Regions from separate parts of the Homo sapiens genome. Here all the other regions are linked to region 1. Evidence: promoter capture Hi-C in human tissues and cell types (Jung and others, 2019). All regions are on one chromosome and are shown on one strand. The core of a region is centred on a gene start or on the middle of the fragment in contact, and the rest is flanking DNA. Distances in the headings are between cores, read along the strand shown.

What was found. The method cuts DNA at HindIII sites, captures the fragments that hold promoters and counts their contacts. A contact is called where the count stands out against the background at its distance.
Region 2: a fragment that was not itself captured here is called in contact with the fragment with the promoter of BSN in region 1 in 1 of the 25 tissues and cell types used here (dorsolateral prefrontal cortex).
Region 3: a fragment that was not itself captured here is called in contact with the fragment with the promoter of BSN in region 1 in 3 of the 25 tissues and cell types used here (dorsolateral prefrontal cortex, lymphoblastoid cells and spleen).
Region 4: the fragment with the promoter of LAMB2 here is called in contact with the fragment with the promoter of BSN in region 1 in 1 of the 25 tissues and cell types used here (mesenchymal stem cells).

The regions. Positions count from the first base shown.
Region 1 is chr3:49,552,513-49,557,608 of GRCh38, forward strand. It overlaps BSN (bassoon presynaptic cytomatrix protein), which reads left to right and starts at 1,965. Exons shown (of 12, transcript NM_003458.4): 1 at 1,965-2,314. The coding sequence starts at 2,091. BSN-DT (BSN divergent transcript) reads right to left here and starts at 1,854. Exons shown (of 3, transcript NR_038866.1): 1 at 1,529-1,854; 2 at 1,036-1,175. RefSeq lists silencers at 1,773-2,072, 2,143-2,352. The HindIII fragment of the contact is 7,009 bases long and covers 1-4,663 here.
Region 2 is chr3:49,082,009-49,087,104 of GRCh38, forward strand. The region is part of intron 1 of QRICH1 (glutamine rich 1); the gene reads right to left. It also overlaps the pseudogene RN7SL182P. Among named protein-coding and RNA genes, the nearest start is that of QRICH1, 9.5 kb to the right of the region's middle. The HindIII fragment of the contact is 6,032 bases long and covers 1-5,096 here.
Region 3 is chr3:49,110,131-49,115,226 of GRCh38, forward strand. It overlaps USP19 (ubiquitin specific peptidase 19), which reads right to left. Exons shown (of 27, transcript NM_001199161.2): 14 at 4,829-4,987; 15 at 4,633-4,743; 16 at 4,044-4,154; 17 at 3,862-3,963; 18 at 2,359-2,499; 19 at 2,154-2,272; 20 at 1,781-1,918; 21 at 1,370-1,683; 22 at 1,125-1,235; 23 at 820-1,036; 24 at 581-733; 25 at 314-474; 26 at 54-232. Among named protein-coding and RNA genes, the nearest start is that of QARS1, 7.9 kb to the left of the region's middle. The HindIII fragment of the contact is 5,151 bases long and covers 1-4,834 here.
Region 4 is chr3:49,130,798-49,135,893 of GRCh38, forward strand. LAMB2 (laminin subunit beta 2) reads right to left here and starts at 2,253. Exons shown (of 32, transcript NM_002292.4): 1 at 1,995-2,253; 2 at 1,694-1,866; 3 at 1,473-1,608; 4 at 1,319-1,392; 5 at 738-926; 6 at 582-645; 7 at 153-355; 8 at 1-63. The coding sequence starts at 2,070. It overlaps LOC124909377 (a long non-coding RNA gene), which reads left to right and starts at 2,071. Exons shown (of 2, transcript XR_007095905.1): 1 at 2,071-2,822. RefSeq lists enhancers at 711-1,526, 2,344-3,159 and a cis regulatory region at 3,693-3,906. The HindIII fragment of the contact is 11,964 bases long and covers 1-2,491 here.

The DNA.
Region 1 (5,096 bases), core at 715-3,214:
TATGGCACAAGACCGCCACATCCCAGACCATCACCAGGGAGACAACTAATAACAGAGTTGTCATAAGTATACCAGGCACTTGTCCTGGTGTTTTACCTACATCAGGCTGGGTGCATTGACTCATGCCTGTAATCCCAGCACTTTGGGAGGCCGAGGTGGGAGGATCACCAGAGGTCAGGAGTTCAAGACCAACCTGGCCAACATGGTGAAATCCCATCTCTACTAAAAATACAAAAACTAGCCAGGTGTGGTGGTGGGCACCTGTAATCCCAGCTACTAGGGAGGCTGAGGCAGGAGAATCATTTGAATCCGGGAGGTGGAGGTTGCAGTGAGCCGAGATCACACCACTGTACTCCAGCCTGGGTGACAGAGCGAGAGTCTGTCTCCAAAAAATAAAAATAAAAAAAATAAAATGAATAAAAAATAAAATATCTACATCAGCCACTCTACCCTTACAATCCCCCATATTCGAGGAGCTACTAAGATTCTAACTTTGCAGAATAGGAAATGGAGGCTCAGTGAGCCTAAGTCAGTTGCCAAGGGTCCTATCGGGGCTGAGGTGCAGACTCTTTTGGAGCCTAAATGTGCACATGTAGTCACCACTCACGAAGCTGTATCAAACATCCTGCAGCACAGGAGGAAACACAGCAAGGACCATCATCTGCAGGAAGAGAGGCTCTCTTCATCCTAGGTCATCCCAGAGGGGCCAGGCAGTTTAGCGTGAAAACGGGAGGTATGAAGTCAGGAGAAAATATCAGGAAGTGGGGGCTCTGCATTTCCTCTTTCTCTTACTTGCTCCATCCCAGAGGTCGGGAGGAGCAGCTCGGAGTGCACAGGGGAAGGCCCAGGGAGGGTCCTGGCCCCTCCTCACAAGAACTGACACAGCCACCGGTCTGTCCAGCAGGCTGGCTATCAGCATTCACTGGGATCCCTGGATTATTCTAGGTTCAGTTAGAACTGCTAACACCCTATGTGATATATTTCGCAACATTAGGAGAATTGAATGGGTTTGTAAAATGGGTTCAAGTTACTCACGCCTTTCTACACAGTCATGATTTATGACGTCAGAGATGAACTGGAATATAGGCTCCTAGGAAATATTCTCCCACAGGAAAGTACAGGCTTGTGTGAGAAGCCACCACGGCAGACAATCCTGAGTAGCGGGCAGAAACCGGCTGTAAATGTGAGGGAGCGGGGAAGTAATTTGGAAAGCTCTCAGGGTAATGCAGAGGCAACCTGCGGCCCCGCATCGAGACAGCTCCAGGCCTGAGAACCATCAAGTCCTCTTTTCCATCCCCAAGGTCACTCTCCCAGGGCTGACTGAGGTGGCCTCCCAGCTGGCTTCACACAGCCCTGTCACACCTTCCATCTGTGCCCGGGGCGCTTCCTGAGACTCCCAGTTCCTCAGTGTGAATCCCAGATGGTTCCCATCGCCATCTGGATAAAGGCTCCACTCCCCAGCTGGCCTTAAAGACCCTCACAATCCGGCCCGACCACCCAGCACCCTCCCTCTCCTTCCCTCTACGACCTTGCGTCTCTGAATACACTTGTTCCTCTGCCTTCCCAACTCCTATGCATACTTTTGAGGCCATTCTCGGGTAGCCCCTCTCCTCTCCGAGGCCTGTCCTTATGACGCCTGCCCGCTGTGGCACTCCGGTTACCCGGAGGAGAGTTGCTACTCTCGAGTTCACCGAGGCGGAAAGCCCCTCTGACTCCAAAGCAGGGCTCAGCGCGACGTCCCAGAGGCCGCTTCTAGTGGCAGGTGCCCCTCCTCACAGGGCCCTCGCAGCCCCGCCGGCCCCCGCCCGGCTCCTTCTCAGCATGATACAACCGCGTCGGCCCTGGACAGCGCATGCGCGGGCGCCGGCGGCTGTTTCCCAGCGACCCCGAGGCTGGCGGGAGCGCGCACAGGGGAAGGGGGGCGTGTGCAGGGAAGGGGGCGCGAGACGCGCATGCGCAGCGGCAGGCGGCGGCGCGAGCCGAGCTGGGAGATGGCGGCGGCAGCGGCGGCGCCGAGAGTGTGAGCACCGCCCGGGAGCCGCCGGCCCGGGCGCAGCGCGACCCCGACCCCGCCCGCCCGCCTGCCCGCCATGGGCAACGAGGTCAGCCTGGAGGGCGGCGCTGGCGACGGGCCGCTGCCGCCCGGCGGCGCCGGCCCCGGCCCGGGCCCCGGCCCCGGCCCCGGCGCAGGAAAGCCGCCTTCAGCACCGGCCGGTGGCGGACAGCTCCCCGCGGCGGGAGCAGCGCGGTCGACCGCGGTACCACCGGTCCCTGGCCCCGGCCCCGGCCCCGGTCCCGGCCCTGGCCCGGGCAGGTAAGCGCGTGTCTCGGCGCCCGGGGGGCGGTGAGCTGCAGCCTGAGGCCGGGACCCGGGCCCAGGATCCCGCGATCTAGTGTGGACAGCGAGGTTCGACGTCCGGCCGCACTCTGAACCCTGCCGGATTGGCGTGAACTGGGTGGTCGCGGGAAGCGGCCCTTCCTTTCCAGCTGCCCCGCCTTGGCGTGGCAGGATGACGAGCGCAGGGTCAGTCGGGGCCTGCAGACCGTGACTCCGTCACGAACCCCAAATTCGCTTCTCCCCAACGCTCGGGCCTGACTGCTCAGGAGGGGCTTATGTAACCTTAACCTGGTCCCTCCGCACAGGAGAGCAATGGGATGGAAAACGTCCTCCCTGTCTGCTGGTGTCTGCATGTGTCCATTGTGCTGGGCCGAGAAAACAGCACAATGGGAGTGGCTGTCAGGGAAGATAAGTGTCACTGCGAGGAACAGAGAGATGAAAATAGTTGAACCATGAACTTGGTCTTGGGCTTTCCTTGGGCATTTAGTGGCTGTAATCACCTTTGGGGGAAAGGAAAATTGCCCACTGGACACCAAGAGGTGCTTATTTAGGCCCAACAATACTAATAGGATCATGTGCTTTCACCAAGGTTTAGGGAAACATTTTGGGGTGAAGCAAAAATGCTATTGAGTCATCCAGCACCAGATATGTTCTCGTTACCTTATGATTTAGATCAAACCAGTGGAAAAGCTGAAACCCACACAGAATGCTTTAAACAGAACATATCTGATTAAATACTGTGAAACCAGTTTGTTTTAAATGTATGCCAACCCAGGTCCTGCAAAAACAGTCAAGTGGCAATGAAGGCTGTAAGGGAATGCCAATATATAATAAGTCAGTAGACTGAAAACTCAGGAAAACTACTAAGAGATGACACGATAAAATGGAAGGCATTATCTTTGCACCAAATAGGCTTGGGGAGTAGCAAAACCCCCAGGGGGTGGGAGGGAGGTGCTTCCAGCTCCATGTGGGTCTGCTGATATATGTTGCCCTGGCTTTTCTGTGTGGAAGCACATAAACTGAGGACGCATAATTTTTTATTCTTTGGCTGCCCGACTGTGCCTCTTGTGTGTTTATTTCCTCAGAAGTCATTTCTTAGACAACTAACAGTAATGAAAGGCTGTTAGTAGCTTGAAACCTGCGGCAGACAGGTCAGCCTGTGAGCATCCTTTTTAGAGGTGGGATTTGTCCATTTTATACTAGCTATAATAGTAATGCAGTTGGATAGCACACAGCTCTTAGCACTGCAAACACTGTCCATTTTGCTGCATGTTGAGTTGCTGTTTGGGTTTTAGCTTGAGGGAGGCTCACCCAGGCTTTAGTGTTCTCCTTCCAAGGGAAAGCTTCTGTAGCTGAATGGAAAAACACCTTGTTATTGAGAGTTCCCTGTATGGGGAATTTGTCATTTCTCTTCTGATAACCAAACAGGCTGCTCTGCTTGTAGTTTATCAGATGTTGCAGAGCCAATCATATGAAATTCTGGAAAGACCTGGGCAGCTCAGAGGGACCGGAAGGAGGCTGATGTCTATTGCTCATATGCCTTTTTAGTGTTTCATTTGTACTTCATCTGTACATTCTGCTGCAGGCAGACCCATGAACTGCTGTGGGTGAGGCGAACCACGGACTCCTGATGGATTTAGTAGTCACACAATCTCTTACCTGGCTGTGGGCAAGGCTCATACCTGAGCCTGTGGTGCTGAGGTCCTGTGACTATCAGACTCAGGAGGTGAGCTGGCTATTTGTCCCCAAAGCTCAGAACCAGAGACCATTAGGAGGTGGGATTTACTCCTCCAGCTGATATTCATTTTATCATAGCACCTCAGCTGAGCAGCAGCTCCATGGCTTATCTCTCCTTTAGTATTGCAATGGCTTCTACTTCCTCTCACTAGAGCATCTCAGATACCTGATGCCAAATTTAGCATGTTCTAAGATGCTGCTGAACAGATTGGCCCATTGATGGGGAAAAAGCCCTGTGAATGTGCTTCTGGGCATTCAGGAAAGAGCATTAGCACAAAGACATATTTGCTTTCAGTAAGATTTTGAATTTCGGGGCAGTCAGAAACCTCATAGAGGTGGGTAGAAGGCCAGGTAAAAGGGAGATGATTCTGGGGGAGTTAAATGCTATTGCCATATTACCTTGTCATCCCAGGCTGAATTAGTCTTTTCATCCTCATACTGAGCTGAGTTGGACTCTGTGAGGGGGTGGCTCCAGCATTTGCTGCTGAAGAGCCTGACTTGAATCCCATGAGTAGCAGTGCTGCCACACCCATAGTGGTGCCTCTTAGCCCGTCGGGATGATGTGGAGCTTTGGGCATTGGAGAGTCCCTCAAGGAAGGGCTCTCTGCTTCTGGTGTCAGGGTGGCCATGTACAATTATATAATCTGTGCCTTTTCCAAGGAGTGCTGGTTTGGGAGAAAGCTGAACTCTAACCCAGGCTCCACTCTCCAAGCTGTGTGCCCTGGTGTAGGCTGCATCCTCTTAGATGAAGGGGCATCATTCACTCGTTAATTCATTTACTTATTTATGGAGATATGCCTAATGTACAGTGGAACACACATATTGATGGGATTTTATTTATACATACACTCGTGACACACTACCAGATCAAGACAGAACTTTATCAGTACCCCAGAAAGTACTTTTTAAAATAATTACACGAAGGAGCCATGTAGACCAGTGGCAGCCTGTCTAGTTTACACCAGCTCTGTGGACTTGCACCTGTCAGTTTTTTTTTTTTTTTTTTTTGAGTTGGAGTCTC
Region 2 (5,096 bases), core at 1,399-3,898, 470 kb before region 1:
TGTTGGCTAAGCTGGTCTCGAACTCCTGACCTTGTAATCTGCTGGCCTTGGCCTCCCAAAGTGCTGGAATTACAAGGCACCTGCCCCCATACCCGGCTAATTTTTGTATTTTCAGTGGAGATGGAGTTTTGCTATGTTGGCCAGCCTGGTCTCAAACTCCTCACCTCAAGCGATCTGCCCAACCTCCCAAAGTGCTAGGATTACAGGCATGAGCCACTGCGCCCAGCAAGGTGTCCTCTATTTTTGACAAACATTTAGCTAAGTGAATATAACTTCTATTTAATCAATATTTTAGTTTTAGAATACATTTCATACCAAAGTCCAGAACATATTTTTTGTCAATCAAGGTTCCAAAGATATGATTAAAACAATTCTGCTGCCTATGTCATCTCCAAATAAATCCTACCAGCCAGTATTTCTAGAATAGTACCTTTAAAAAGTTACTATAAGAAACTCTAGTCCAAATATACATTTATTTCCTGAGCAAAAAGGCAAATAAGCTAGATATTCAGCTGTCAGAAAAAATAAAAGCTTCAAAAAGTTACTTGCTATAAACCATCAAAATCCATTCTTTAAGCCTTCCATTTAAAAAAAAAGAAAAAAAAAGCCGGGCACGGTGGCTCACGCCTGTAATCCCAGCACTTTGGGAGGCTGAGGTGGGTGGATCACGAGGTCGGGAGATCGAGACCACCCTGGCTAACACGGTGAAACCCTGTCTCTACTAAAAATACAAAAAATTACCCTGGCGTGGTGGCAGGCGCCTGTAGTCCCAGCTACTCGGGAGGCTGAGGCAGGAGACTGGCGTAAACCTGGGAGGCAGAGCTTGCAGTGAGCCGAGACCACACCACTGCACTCCAGCCTGGGCGACAGAGCAAGACTGCGTCTCAAAAAAAAAAAAAAAGAAAAAAAGGCCAGGTGTGGTGACTCACGCCTGTAATCCTAGCACTATGGACTTTGGGGGGCCAAGGAAGGTGGATAACCTGAGGTCGGGAGTTCGAGACCAGCCTGACTAACATGGAGAACCCCCGTCTCTACTAAAAATACAAAATGAGTTGGGCATGGTAGAGCATGCCTGTAATCCCAGCTACTTGGGAGGCTGAGGCAGGAGGATCGCTTGAACCTGGGAGGCGGAGGTTGCAGTGAGCCAAGATCGCACCATTGCACTCCAGCCTGGCGACAAAGTGAGACTCTGTCTCAAAAAAAAAAAAAAAAGGGGGGGGGGGAGCCTGGGATGATGGTGCATGCCTGCAGTCCCAGCTACTCAAGAGACTGAAACAGGAGGATTGCTTGAGTAGTCCAGGAGTTCTGGGCTATAGTGCTCTATGCCAATCGGGTGTCCACACTAAGTTCAGCATCAATATGGTGACTTCAAGGGAGCAGGGAATCACCAGGTTGCCTAAAGAGGGGTGAACCACCCCAGGTTGGAAATGGGGCAGGTCAAAACTTCCATACTGCAGTAGTAGAATCCTGTCTGTGGATAGCCACAGCACTCCAACCTGGGCACCACAGTGAGATCCCATCTCTTAGAAATAATAGTAATAATTTAAAAGACAAACAAGCTTGAGGTAGGAAAAATTCCATAAAACCATTAGAAAATATCAATACTAAGCTTGGCATGGTGGTTCTCGCCTGTAGTCCCAGCTACTTGGGAGGCCGAGGCAGGAGGATAGGATGGCTTGATCCCAGCAGTTTGAGCCTGCAATGAGCTATGATCATGCCACTGCACTCCAGCTTGGGTGACAGAGTGAGACTCCATCTCAAAAAAAAAAAATTAGCCAGGTGTGGTGCTGCATACCTGTAGTCCCAGCTACTTGGGAGGCTGAGGCAGGAGAATCGCTTGAACCCAGGAGGCACAATCTTGGCTCACTGCAACCTCCGTGCCCCCCAGGTTCAAGCGATTCTCCTGCCTCAGCCTCCCGAGTAGCTAGGATTACAGGCACCTGCCACCGTGCCTGGCTAATTTTTGTATTTTTAGTAGAGGCAGGGTTTCACCATCTTGGCCAAGCTGGTCTTGAACTCCTAAACTCATGATCCACCCGCCTCAGCCTCCCAAAGTGCTGGGATTACAGGTATGAGCCACCGCACCCGGCCCACATCCGGCTAATTTTTATATTTTTAGTAGAGATGAGGTTTTGCCATGTTGGCCAGGCTGGTCTCGAACTCTTAACCTCAGGTAATCCACTCGCTTCCACCTTCCAAAGTGCTGGGATTACAGGCATGAGCAACCACACCCAGCCTAAATTCTTTTTTATTTTTATTTTTATTGAGACACAGTGTTGCTCTGTCGCCCAGGCTGGAGCGTAGTGGCACGATCCTGGCTCACTGAAACCTCCGCCTCCTAGGTTCAAGCAATTCTCCTGCCTCAGCCTCCAAAGTGGCTGGGATTACGGGCACCCGCCACCATGCCCAGCTAATTTTTGTATTTTAGTAGAGACGGGATTTCGCCATGTTGGTCAGGATGTACTCAAACTCCTGACCTCAAGCGATCCACAGCATCGGTCTCCCAAAGTGCTAGGATTACAGGCGTGAGCCATCACATCCAGCCAAGATTGTGAGACCAGCCTGGCCAACATGGTGAAACCCCATCTCCACTAAAAATACAAAAACTAACAGGGCATGGTGGCAGCCACCCGTAATCCCAGCTACTCTAGAGGCTGAGGCAGGAGAATTGCTTGAATCCGGGAGGCGGAGGTTGTAGTGAGCTGAGACTGCGCCACTGCACTTCAGCCTGGGGAAAGAGTGAGACTCCACCTCAAAAAATGATAAAAAGGAATGCTAACAGTAGTTATGCCTAGATGATGGAACCACAGAGTAATTAAGTTTCTTCTGTTAAACACTCTTCTGAATTTTCCACAAGTGGTATTAATCTAAGGCTCACGCCTGTAATCCCAGCACTTTCCGAGGCAGGCAGATCACCAGATCAGGAGATCGAGACCATCCTGGCTATCACGGTGAAACCCCGTCTCTACTAAAAATACAAAAAAATTAGCCGGGTGTGGTGTTGGGCGCCTGTAGTCCCAGCTACTCGGGAGGCTGAGGCAGGAGAATGGTGTGAATCTGGGAGGTGGAGCTTGCAGTGAGCCAAGATCGTGCCACTGCACTCCAGCCTGGGCGACAGAGCAAGACTCCGTCTCAAAAAAAAAAAAATCATCTTTTTCTACACAGTGGCTATAGTGTAGTAATGGTAAGACACATAATTCTGGCTGATCATAGTATGATTTTCTTTCAAAATCTGAAAGAAACTAAACCGGCCGAAAGAGGTGGCTCATGCCTGTAATCCCAGCATTTTGGGAGGCCGAGGCAGGCGGATCACCAGGTCAGGAGATCGAGACCATCCTGGCTATCACGGTGAAACCCCATCTCTACTAAAAATACAAGTGGTTATAGTGTAGTAATGGTAACAGACACGTAATTCTGGTTGATCATAGTACGATTTTCTTTCAAAATCTGAAAGAAACTAAACCTGCCGAACGAGGTGGCTCATACCTGTAATCCCAGCACTTTGGGAGGCCGAGGTGGGTGGATCACCTGAGGTCAGTAGTTTGAGACCAGCCTGACCAACATGATGAAACCCCGCCTCTACTAAAAATACAAAAAAAATTAGCCAGGTGTGGTGACACGTGCCTGTAATCCCAGCTACTCGGAAGGCTGAGACAGGAGAATCGCTTGAACCTGGGAGGTGGAGGTTGCAGTGAGCCAAGACCATGCCACTGCACTCCGGCCTGGGCAACAAGGGCAAAACTCCATCTCAAAAAAAAAAAAAAGAAAAAGAAACTAAACCATAAAATACCAAAAACTTGTACAAAATAATGAAGACTTAACTTCAAGATGCTGCACATAAGACACAAAAGTTGAGCCTTCGTAATAAAGAGAAATGGAGAAACTTCTAAAAGAGACAAAAGATTCTTAATTAGCTCCAAGTAAAAGACTTAGTAAGAAGCAATAAAGAAATTAATTAAAGTATTTCTGAAAAACATGCAGCCATGAGGATATCTGAGTGTTCCCAATTTCTGGGACTCTGATGAGACTAATAATGAAAAAAGAAAATACTCTAATGCTCTTGGGGTGTATGAGGTCTGTAAACAAGCATTTACTTCTAAACGCTTTTAAATATAGCTGCATTGTAAAAAAAAAAAAATAAGTAACAATAAAGGAAAGCCAGCCCTCCCTTAAACAGACCCTGGACATTTTTGCTGGTATAAAATCAAATTGTTCACTGGTATCTCCTCTGTATCTCCCTCTTTTTCTTTTTCTTTTTTTTTTTTTGAGATGGAGTCTCACTCTGTCGCCCAGGCTGGAGTGCAATGGTGCGATCTCGGCTCACTGTAAGCTCCACCTCCTGGATTCACACCATTCTCCTGCCTCAGCCTCCCAAGTAGCTGGGACTACAGGCACCCACCACCACGCCCGGCTAATTTTTTTGTATTTTTAGTAGAGACGGGGTTTCGCCGTGTTAGCCAGGATGGTCTCGATCTCCTGACCTCGTGATCCTCAGCCTCCCAAAACTGGGATTACAGGTGTGAGCCACTGCGCCTGGCTCCTCTGTATTTCCTCCTACTGGAGCTTAGCATAGTGCCTGATGCACAGCAATTCTTCACTACATGAGTTATTATTTTTATTATTTTATTATTAGAACATAAGATGGTACCATGGACAAAGGTTACTCCAAAACAACAATCTATTACATTTCTATAGGTCTGTTTGCTAATTTTTTTCTTTTTTCCGTTTAGGTACCAAGGGAAGATCTTATTGCAATCACTGTTTCTTGGGTTTCTTATCCCTGATACCTCTTTTGGGCCCCCTGTATGGCTCTGCAGAGTGAGTCTTCAATCCGTGATGGACTAAAAGAAGTCTGAACTGCCTCAGAACCTTACCTCTTCCTTGGGCTTTGAGGCCCCTCAAGGTTCACATCTACTCCAACAATGGCTCTTCATAGCTTAGTCCAGTTTGAATACATTCATATGGGGCCCGGTGCAGTGGCTCACGCCTGTAATCCCCAGCACTTTGGGAGGCTGAGGTGGGCGGATCACCTGAGGTTGGGAGTTCAAGACCAGTCTGGCCAACGTGGTGAAATCCCATCTCTACCAAAAACACAA
Region 3 (5,096 bases), core at 1,009-3,508, 440 kb before region 1:
CCCAGTCTGTGAACTGTCCCCCAGTATTCTGTAAAGCCTCCCACATGCCTCACCTGGCTGGCAGCAGCCTCAGCTGCAGGGCCTAGGTCTGGGTGGTGCTCAGAGTGACCTGCCCTGGGGGGCCTCTCCACAGGAGAGTTCCGCCGGCGGTAGAAGAGTACATAGGCATAACGCGTCACAACCTGGCTCTCGTCTACCGTTGTCACTGTGCTGTCATCAAACAAGCGCCAGCCTACAGCAGGGTGGGAAGAGTGTGAACAAAGTCTGCACCACCACCCCTACCACCTATCCTGCTGGCTGTGTGTGCCCTCACCCACGTCACTGCGCTGACTGCTACGATCATTGGGCAGGCGTGCACAGGCAGTGTAGTGGCCACCAATCATGCCTCCATAGTGGTTGATGACAGCATATAGATCGTAGCTGGGCAGCTGCTCCTCTTTCTGACCAATGCAGAACTTGCTCAGGTCCAGGTTCCTGCAGGTCAGGTCCAGTCAGGGAGGGGTGAGACAGGCAACAGGCGCTCAGGATGCCCATCCTGGTCCTCACACCCCACCCACAGTTACCAAGGTCCACTGCTTACCTAACAGGGAACTCCACCAAGTCATTGATCTTGTCACGCCAGATAAAACTACGAAAGGAGAAGCGCTTGAGCTGCACGATGAGAACATTTGGCAGGCGCCATAGCAACAGCTGCTTGGAGGCCTCACGGTGCTGTTTGCACTGTGGGCAGTACCTGGTGGGGACAGAGATTGGGTCAGGACCAGCAAGTCTCTCTCTTCTCCATCCTGCCCCCTTATCTACTTGCTGCTCTGTTCTCACCAGGCCTCCTCGGGTGCCAGCACCTCAGGCCGTGTGAAGAGGTTGAGGCACTGGTCCAGGGTGAAGTGGCCGGCCCGGGCAGCCTCACCGGCAGAGCCTGGATCCTCAGCACATTCCAGCTCCTTGGAGGCTACCAACACAAACTCCTGCAAGCGCTCATTGTTCCGCCAGACGAGAGCCAGGCTACAGTCGTCACCCAGCTCCAGTGGGGTGTCTCCTGGAGATTCGCAGGGAGAGAGGTCATGCAGCTGTGGAGAACAGCCAGCTCAACCCACCCCATGGCTCCCACCCACAGCCTCAGACACCTTTGTCCTCTAGCCGCTGCTCTCGGTTGGATGAATCAATTTTATAGATGAAGAACTGGGGTGTGTGGGCATTCATAGCTTCACTTGGATGCTGGTACCCAGGCACAGCAGCTGTGTGAGAACATGATAATCAAAGCTTCCCTGCCCATCAGGGCCTCACCAGGCCCACCAGGCCCTAAACAACAGCCCCCTCCATCCTCCCTTATCCTCCTCCCCAGCTTCTAGAGCCTTTCACTGGATCTTACCTTCGGGTCGGGACACCCTCTCGCCAGCTGGCAAGGAGCCAACCTCAATGGGCCCACTGGCCAGCATCTCAGAAGAAATTCCACTGGTGCTGGGCACAGGACCCCGGTCAGGGGCTGCCCACACCCGGGGAAGCCCTGTGTCCCCCTCAGCCATAGGGGTCACCAGCTGGAGCTCAGGTGGCTGAATGGGGTCTCTCTCGCTGTCCCCAGCCTCCAGGGAACCTGTGGAGAGCAGTGTGGTGCAGCCAGGGCTCTGAGACTCCAAGGCCATGCGGCCTGGCTGAAAGGGTGGCTGGAATACACTCACAGAGTACCTGGCAACAGAGAACAACGCAAGTAAGACTCCTGACCAGCCCATCTAGCACCTCTGCCCCCACCTACACCACTCTAGTCCAACCACTGGGCACTTACCGGGCATAGCCCTCTAGCAACTGAGCGAGGCGGGCATAAGTGAGGCGTGAGGCAGGTACACTGACCAGGAAGGGGTAGCCAATGTTCTCAGGTCGGCAGAGGCCCTTGTGGTCAGGCCAGTGGGTTTTCTGGCAGAGCCTGACGGGAAGAGGAAGACAAGGATAGGCCCTTAGCCCCATCTCCTATGACTCCATACTGGGGGCTAGTCATAGTCCCTGGGAACTGGGTACGCCAGCCCTGCCTCCCCCAGAGCCTGGTAAAGTAGGGTGGCAAGTAGAAAGCTTAAGCATATGTGCCTTGGTGTGAAGGGAAGGAGCAGGGTGGCACATGGAAGGTGGAAAGAAAGGGTAGGGGAGACCATGGGGGTCCTCACTGGTTGCAGTAGCCCACACGGTAGCACCGGGTACAGCGCTTCAGCTTTTCATCCTCCGACTGTTGCTTCCGCTGGCAGGCTGCACACTTGGAGATGGGGACGCTGGGCACCTGGGGGCGCTAGGGTGGGTCGTCTGGCTCAGCAAGACCAGGAAGAAGTGCCCCACCCACCAGGGCGCTGTGCCATCAGGTTGGCCCCCACTCACCTGTTGCACCTCTAGCACCACTACCCGCTCCTTAGCCAACTCTGAGGATAGCAGCTCAAAGCAGAGGAGCGTATCAGATGGGGACACAGTGTCCAGTGAGTGGGAGGGTAGGAACACACGATGAAAACGATTCTTAATTACCTGGGGACAGAGAACACACAGATCCCACGTGAGGATAAGCCCTTTCCCTAGCCCTGCCCCAGAGTTTAAGAAGGCTTGGCCCTGCCTTGGGTCTATGTGGGCAGTGGTGAGGTCTGTAGGCCCAAATAGGCTTATGCCTCTGCTGGCACCTGTCTCAGTGCCCAATGCCATAAGGAGCCTGGTGCATCAGAGGGCCTGAAAGACCAGGTGTGAGGCAGATATCAACCACACCAGCTCTCCACACTGAGGGACTCTGCCCTGCTATAACTAGCATAGCCTTATAAGACTGTAACATATTATCATGGAGGGTCCACATTCAAAGAGCCTCCTCCCCACTCTTACCCCTAAGAAAACCAACACTGTCAGGCTAAAGGCTAGGAACCCCTGGGGAGAGCTAGCACACACAACTGGGATAAAAGGAGAGAGCAGCAGGATAGAGGGAGAGGCAGAGCGAACATAGGGATAGTCCTGCAGCTCAAGCTCCTTGTCTAAAAAGGGAAATGCAGTTGGGATCCACCACCACAAAGGGGAATAAACCCTGATAATGGCTAGGAACTGAGGGCACTTCTGTTGCACAGAAAAAATAACAGCACATCGCCTGTTTTTGTACAGTCACAGGCATACTCATGTGTATGTCTATTTTTATTTTATTTTATTTTATTTTTGAGACAGAGTCTCACTCTGTCACCCAGGCTGGAGTGCAGTGGCGCGATCTCGGCTCACTGCAACCTCTGCCTCCCAGGTTCAAGCGATTCTCCTGCCTCAGCCTCCTGAGCAGCTGGGACTACAGACATGTGCCACCACGCCCGGCTAACTTTTCCTGTATTTTTAGTAGAGGTGGGGTTTCACCATGTAAGCCAGGGTGGTCTGGATCTCCTGACCTTGTGATCCATCAGCCTTGGCCTCCCAAAGAGCTGGGATTACAGGCATGAGCCACCACGCCTGGCCCTATTTTTATTTTTTTATCTATTTATTTATTTATTTTTGAGACAGAGTCTCACTCTGTCACCCAGGCTGGAGTGCTGTGGTGCAATCTCTGCTCACTGCAACCTCCACATCCCGGGCTCAAGTGAGCCTCTTGCCTCAGCCTCCCAAGTAGCTGGGACTATAACACGTACCACCATGCCCAGCTAATTTTATTTCTTGTAGAGACAGTGTTTCACCAAGTTGCCCAGGCTGGTCCCAAACTCCTGGGCTCAAGTGATCTGCCCACCTCGGCCTCACAAAGTGCTGGGACTACAGGCATGAGCCACTGTGCCCAGCCCATGTGTATGTCTGTAGATGCCAATGACTGTACACACGTCTGTGGTGAGTACACACACACATCCACACATGTGATAGCCCAAGGAAGGACAAAGATACCTCCGCCAAACGCAGGTTCTCAGGCTTCACATGAACACTCTGAGAGAGGGAGTCCAATACTTCGCTCGCAGTGGAGTTCTCCTTGCTGACGCTCACCAGGAACTGTGGCAAAAAGGGCAGTCAGTGAGGGAGGTGGGCCACGTTCTCTAGAACAGCCCAGAGGGTAGGGGCTTACTCCTCACCTTGATGGGCTTGCTGTGGGGCTCTCGGGCAAAATAAAAGACAGGGAGAACCTTTTGCTTTTGTGGCAAGGGCACCGGCAGATAAAGAAACGGGTCAAAAGTGATGGAGACCTGTGGATGTAGAGGTGGCACTGGGTAGCTGCACACAGAGTGGGAGATAAGATGCTCATGCTCAGAGAGCCCATTCCGGGGCTTCTGATGGCTCTCAGGGCCCCCACAGCCAACCAGCAAACTCTCAGGCTTCAGGACACTAGACAGGGCAGGAGGACCACCAGGAAATAACAATCCTTCTTTCTGGCACTCAAAGCCCTACTCAGCTTAGCCACTTTACGAATTGGCCTCACACTTGCACCCCATGTGCCCACAACCCTGCTACAACACCTTTGAGCTCTAACATCACTTTTCCCTCAGTCAGGAAGCCTACCCTGAGTGGGCTCTTCAGCCCAAATAGAATCCTAAGGCCTCCCTGCCAGCTTCTTTGCCCAAACCTTGCCCTGTAGCACCTTAAGATGCACATGCCTCTGAACCTAATGTGACCAGAATAGCTGAGCTGAACTAGGGGGTCTCTTTCCAGGGGAGCCCATCACACCTTGGCACACACAGGGCACACCAGCTTCGACTTGTACTGCCCCTGAAATAGGTCCACGATGAAAGAGTCATTCCTCATCTTGTGCCGCTGCCATGCTTCCTCAGCTACCACCTGAGAGGCAGAGTGGTGAGAACCAAAGAGTACCAGGGGCTGGGATGCTCATGAGACATGCCCACCCTCTGTCCCTAACCCTGACCTCATCGGGCCGCCCATCTGAATCCACGGTCTCTGTGTAGGGCTTGTTCTGAATGCGATTCAGGTCCTCGTGCAGCCCATCCAGCAGGAAAGCCATGAACTCCTGGGCATCATGCTGTGCATAGCCTGTGAACTGGCTGGCCTTACTCGCCACAATGGCCTGGATACAGGAGCCAAGGTGTGAACATGAAGCCCTAGCACCCACTGCACACCCAGCTGGCTGGCCCTCCCCGCCCCCTCCAGCCAAGGGTGACAGTGGTCACAGATCA
Region 4 (5,096 bases), core at 1,003-3,502, 420 kb before region 1:
ATCCTGACACTGCTCGCAGTTGAGGCCACGTGTGTTGTGTTTGCAGATGCAAGCTCCGTGCACCTATAGAGGTTGGCAGGTAGGTTGTCAGCACTGCTCAGCCATGTCCGCCCCTGCCCCTAGCCCTATCCCAACCGTCTGAAGCCCCTTACCATGCCCTCAGCATGGGCTGGTGCCCCTGGGGCGGGTGCACACTCTGAGGCGTGTCCGTAGCAGAAGCAGTTGCCACGTACAACCAGCTCATAGAGGGCATAGTAGTACTTCTCTCGGATCTCCCTCCGTGGGTCGAGTAGGTTGTCTCCCAACGTGTGTAGACGAGTCAGGTTCACCCGTAGGTTGGTGATCTTCAACAGGTCTGAGGCGGGGGAAGGGGGGCCAACTGACCAGGCAGGCCCTTGCTGCCCCATGTCCACCCAGGGGCTCAGCTGCCAAGGTCACCTTGAAAGACCTCCTATACACTGCCACCCGAGCTAAACTGGGCTTGGCACCTGCCCTAGGAAGCACCCAAAATAGTTACTGAGGCCCCAAATAGTCCCTAGCCGGACACGGACTGTGCCAGACTCAAAGGGTGGAGCACTCACTCTGAATCCGTGAGCTGTAGGGGTCTGGGATAGGGATGGCAGGGTCCAGCACACGATAGATGACCTGGAGAAGCAGGGAGTTCATAGTCACACTGGACCTTGCCTCAGGCCCATCATCCCCAGCTTCCAGCCCCCAGCCCAGATGCCAGCCCTCACCTCGCCTTCAGTGGATGGCTCAATCTCTGAGTAGCGGGACTCACAGACTACATCATCCCAGTGCCGTGGGGGTGCTAGTGGGACTCCTGGGAAGTCAGCCCCACAGTCATAGGAGAAATATCGGTACACATGCCAGGTGCGGCCAAAGTCTGCTGAGCGTTCCACCAGCATGGCAGCAGGGCGAAATGTCTGGGTAGGGGGGCATAGCTGATCAGCAGGCACCAGGACCCAAGCCCAACCCAGAGCCATCAAGAGCCCTGCTCAGCCCAAGACTGCCCTCAAATAGCTCACAGAGAGTGGGGGTGACTGGTGGAAGCCAGATAATGACCAGCAAAGGTAGCCACCTCTAATGGGGAGACTCAGGGTTCATGGGGCTCAGGGAGACAGCGCCTGACCCAGCCTGGGATTGGAAAGGCAGAAGAGCATGTGCAAAGGCCTGGAGGCAAATGGAAGGTGTGAAGGGATGAAGGAGCCTCCTGCATCCATGCTCAAGGAGGCTGTGTTAAGGAGCTGAGGCTCTGTCCAGGGGCAATGGAGAGCCAAGCAGGGTGATTCGGGCAGGCTCCCAGATATGCAGGCACCTTGAAGGTCATAATGAGGTGTGTGAAATGAAACTCAGCCTCCAGGTCCAGCTGGATGGTGACCGCAGGGATACCTGGGACAGGAATCGGAAGTCAAGGACTCAAAGCTACTGGTGGGCAGCCCTGCTCACTTTTGCCCCACCCATGGCCTCACCATTCTCTGACTGCCACCAGGCTGCCCGCCGCTGTGGTGCAAAGCTGGTGACTACATTCTGGATGCGATGGCTGTGTGGGTTGTCTCTAGCAGAGAAGGGGCGCCGGGAGTCACAAAGGAAGCACTTCTTTTCGTCCTGGGTTGGATGGGGATTAGAATCAGTGCCTCAGGCAGTGCCAGCCCCACCCTGACTCGGCGTCACACCCTGTCCCCAGCCACACCTGCAGGTGACTGACGATGCAGTAGGGCTGGGGGCCATTCAGGCCACAAGTGGATGAGGCAGTCAGTCTGTCAGCTCGGCCCACCAGCAGGTCGCCCGTGGCGGGGTAGCAGCTTCCCCTGGAACAGCCAGGCACATCCGGGGCAGGGGCCTGTGCCAGTGTGGCAGCCAGCACTGGGGACAGTAGCTCAGTCAGTTCCGCTGAGTTCCTATCCAGTGGCTCCACCTCATGTGCCCCAAGGGCAACTACCAGGACCTACCATCACATTCCACAACCCCCAGCCCCCACCAGGCCCTCTCACCGCTTAGCAGTAGGCCCAGTCGAAGTTCCCAGGGCAGAGGCTGTCCCCTCCCTCTTTCCCTTGAGGTCAGCTCCATCCTGAAGAGGGGAACAGGGATAAGGGGAGGTGAACGGTCTCGGGCCCGAGCCCTCCTCCTTGCTTTGGGGTTCCGTGTCAACTCTGCCTGTGGGTCTTTGGCCTGTTTCCCTCCAGGCCCTCTGTCAGTTCCCAGGTCTGTCCAGCGGTCCCTCCGACAGCTTAGAGTCCAGCGACTTTGAGCAAAGTTGGGAATCGCGGCAGGAAGGAAAGGCCGGAGCGGATTCTGGGAAGGAGCGCAACACCGGGCGGAGAGCGCCCCCACCCCAACCCTACCCCTTCCCTCCGGAAACTGCCTTCGCCCCAGGAACCAGAGACAGACCACTTCACCCACAAATCTTTATTGTGCCCCCAAGCCCACACCTATACGAGGGCCAGGGGAAGGTAAGGGGTTTGGTGCTTTAAACTATCCTTGGAAGAGGGCTCACGAAGTTGGGGGCATGGCAGGAGCAAATGAGAGATCTTCGGGATCTCCAACTCTGGACCAAGGAGACCGTAGCCTTTTCCCCTCAGCGTCATGGGCGCCGTGGAAATTACCATCAACTCAGCCGTTTGATCCCAGGGCTCCAGCATCAACAGAGAGGCTGGAGGGCACAAGCAGGAGCAACACATGCCCCTATTCAGGGCTGTGGGGGGCTCTCGGGTAGTCCTAGGGACTGGACAGAATGGGGCTGGGGGAGAGATGGGGAAAGTGCACACCCAGCCCGAAGCACAGCTCCAGGGGGGTCACTGCCTCCCCCACTAGTCACTACGGTAAGTAGGCACGAGAAGTGCTGCGGGTTTCCCTGTATGGAAATAGGCTCTGGGTGGTGGACCAGAGCTACGGCGAGCGACTCCGGATCTTGTGGCTATTTATCCGCTCCAGACTTTTTGGCCTGCCGGGATCGCAGGAGCCTGGGGTTGGAATGTGCGCGGCGGCGTGGAGGGGGAGAGAAGGAGGAAAGTGGGTGGGGGATATGGGGCGCGCCCCACCCAGGGCCCTGGGAACGGGAAGCTGGGGGAAACATGGGGTCCTCCGGTCTTTAGGGCTGGGTCTGGCCTGCCGCCTCCACAGTCCCGGCAGGGAGTGCCCTGAGCTGCCATCCAGGGAAGAAAGCTGATGATAGTTCCTCAGGGGAATCACCCCACTTCACAAAGGAGCATGGGGGCGGCGGGGGTGGGGGTTGGGTGAGGGTTGGGTGGGGGTCAGTCAATCCGTTGGACTTTAGGCATCGCTGGGAGTTATTCTGGATATCCGGAGTAGAGGTCTCCAGTCACCCTGAGGATCATGTAGTCAACCTGGGGGATCAGGGATACTAGAAATTACTGAGAATTTTAATTTTTTTTTTTTTTTTGAGACAGAGTGTCGCTCTGTCACCCAGGCTGGAGTGCAGTGGCGAGATCTCCGCTTACTGCAACCTCTGCCTCCCAGGTTCAAGCGATTCTCCTGCCTCAGCTTCCCAAGTAGCTAGGATTACAGGCGCCCACCACCACGCCCAGCTAATGTTTCTATTTTTAGTAGACATGGGGTTTCACCATGTTGGCTTGGCTGGTCTTGAACTCCTGATCTCAGGTGATCCTCCCGCCTCTGCCTCCGAAAGCGCTGGGATTACAGGCATGAGCCAGTAAATAGTGCCAGGCCCCATCTATTTATTTTGAGTGGAGAATGCCAGCACTGTAGTCTCACAGTTTTAGATCACTCAGAGATAAAGGTGTATCAAGGTCTGGGACACTAGATGGCCTCAGGGAGTTACATGATCTGTCTGCTTTCTCAAGGTCAGAGGGCCACTGGGGGACATCGTGGGGCCACATGGGGGGGTCACTCAGGGTCAGTGGGCACTCAGTAGGATCTTTGGTCTCCCAAGGCCAGGAGATTCCTGGATCACTCTAGGGCCACTTTGAGTTACCCAGGTGATCCCACAGTCCTTCTTAATGGCTTCCATAGACAGTAATTAGCAGGTGGCATACTTATTGGTGGCAAAGCACATCATGTGCCCAAGCAGCTCAGCTGCCTGCTGCTCCAGGGCCTGCAGGGTGGCTGCCTTCTTGCCCAGTGCCTGTGCATTCTGTGTCAGGCGGCACTCCAACCCTGGGGTCAGGTCATCTGAGCCAGGCTCTGACCCCTGGCTCTAACCTCTGATCCTGGTCCCAGTCTCTATCACAACCCTGACCCTGACCCAGCCCTAACCTTAAATAAACCCTGAACCTAATCAACACTTGATCCCTGGTCTAAACCTTGACCCTAGCCCTGATCCCTACATGAGTCAAGATCTGATCTGGACCCAGCCTTAACCCTTCCACAACATCCCTATTCTGGCCCTGACCTTTCCATCTGACCCTAAGCCGTTCCCTGTGCCTGCCCTATTGCAGGCCAGCCATGCACCATGCAGGCAGCTGAAGCTGCTTTATGCCTTCTTCAGGAGCTCCTGGGCCTCAGCTCAAGCCTGCTGCACCCATTCTTTTGCATCCTGCACAGTGGCTACCAGGCCATATGTGTCCTCCTGCAGCTCGGCCACAGCCAAAGGGGCCACCTACAACTCCTAGGGCAGGGCTGGACCTGAATCCCCACCCCACCCAGAATATATTGCCTCAAATATATTACTGCCTAAGGTTCCTGGAGAAAAGGAGAATTTAGAACTGAGATCCCGCCTCAGTCCAGTATAGCCCAGCCCCAGCCCAAACCCCACTTTCCACTGTTCCAGAGGGGTCCCTGAGACCCCAGTGCCCACTCTTCCCCATTTCATCTTGCCCAGGCCCTCAGCCCTGCCTACGACTCATGCTGCCCATTCTTCTGCCTCCTGGGCCTGCTGCTGACTCAGGACAAAACATGCCCTGAGCACCTTAGCTACACTGGACAGACGCCCTGGGACTGGGGTCACCTCAACTGCCAGTGCCATCTGGGCCAGGCGCCCTACTACCTGGGGCAAAGGTTAGGGGGTCACAGAGAGGACACAGCACAGTAGCAACTAGGCTGAGTGTTATCACGGTCAAGGTACTTGGTAGCACTGTGGTATCATAGTGAGTCAAGGATCTCAGGGAGAATGGAAA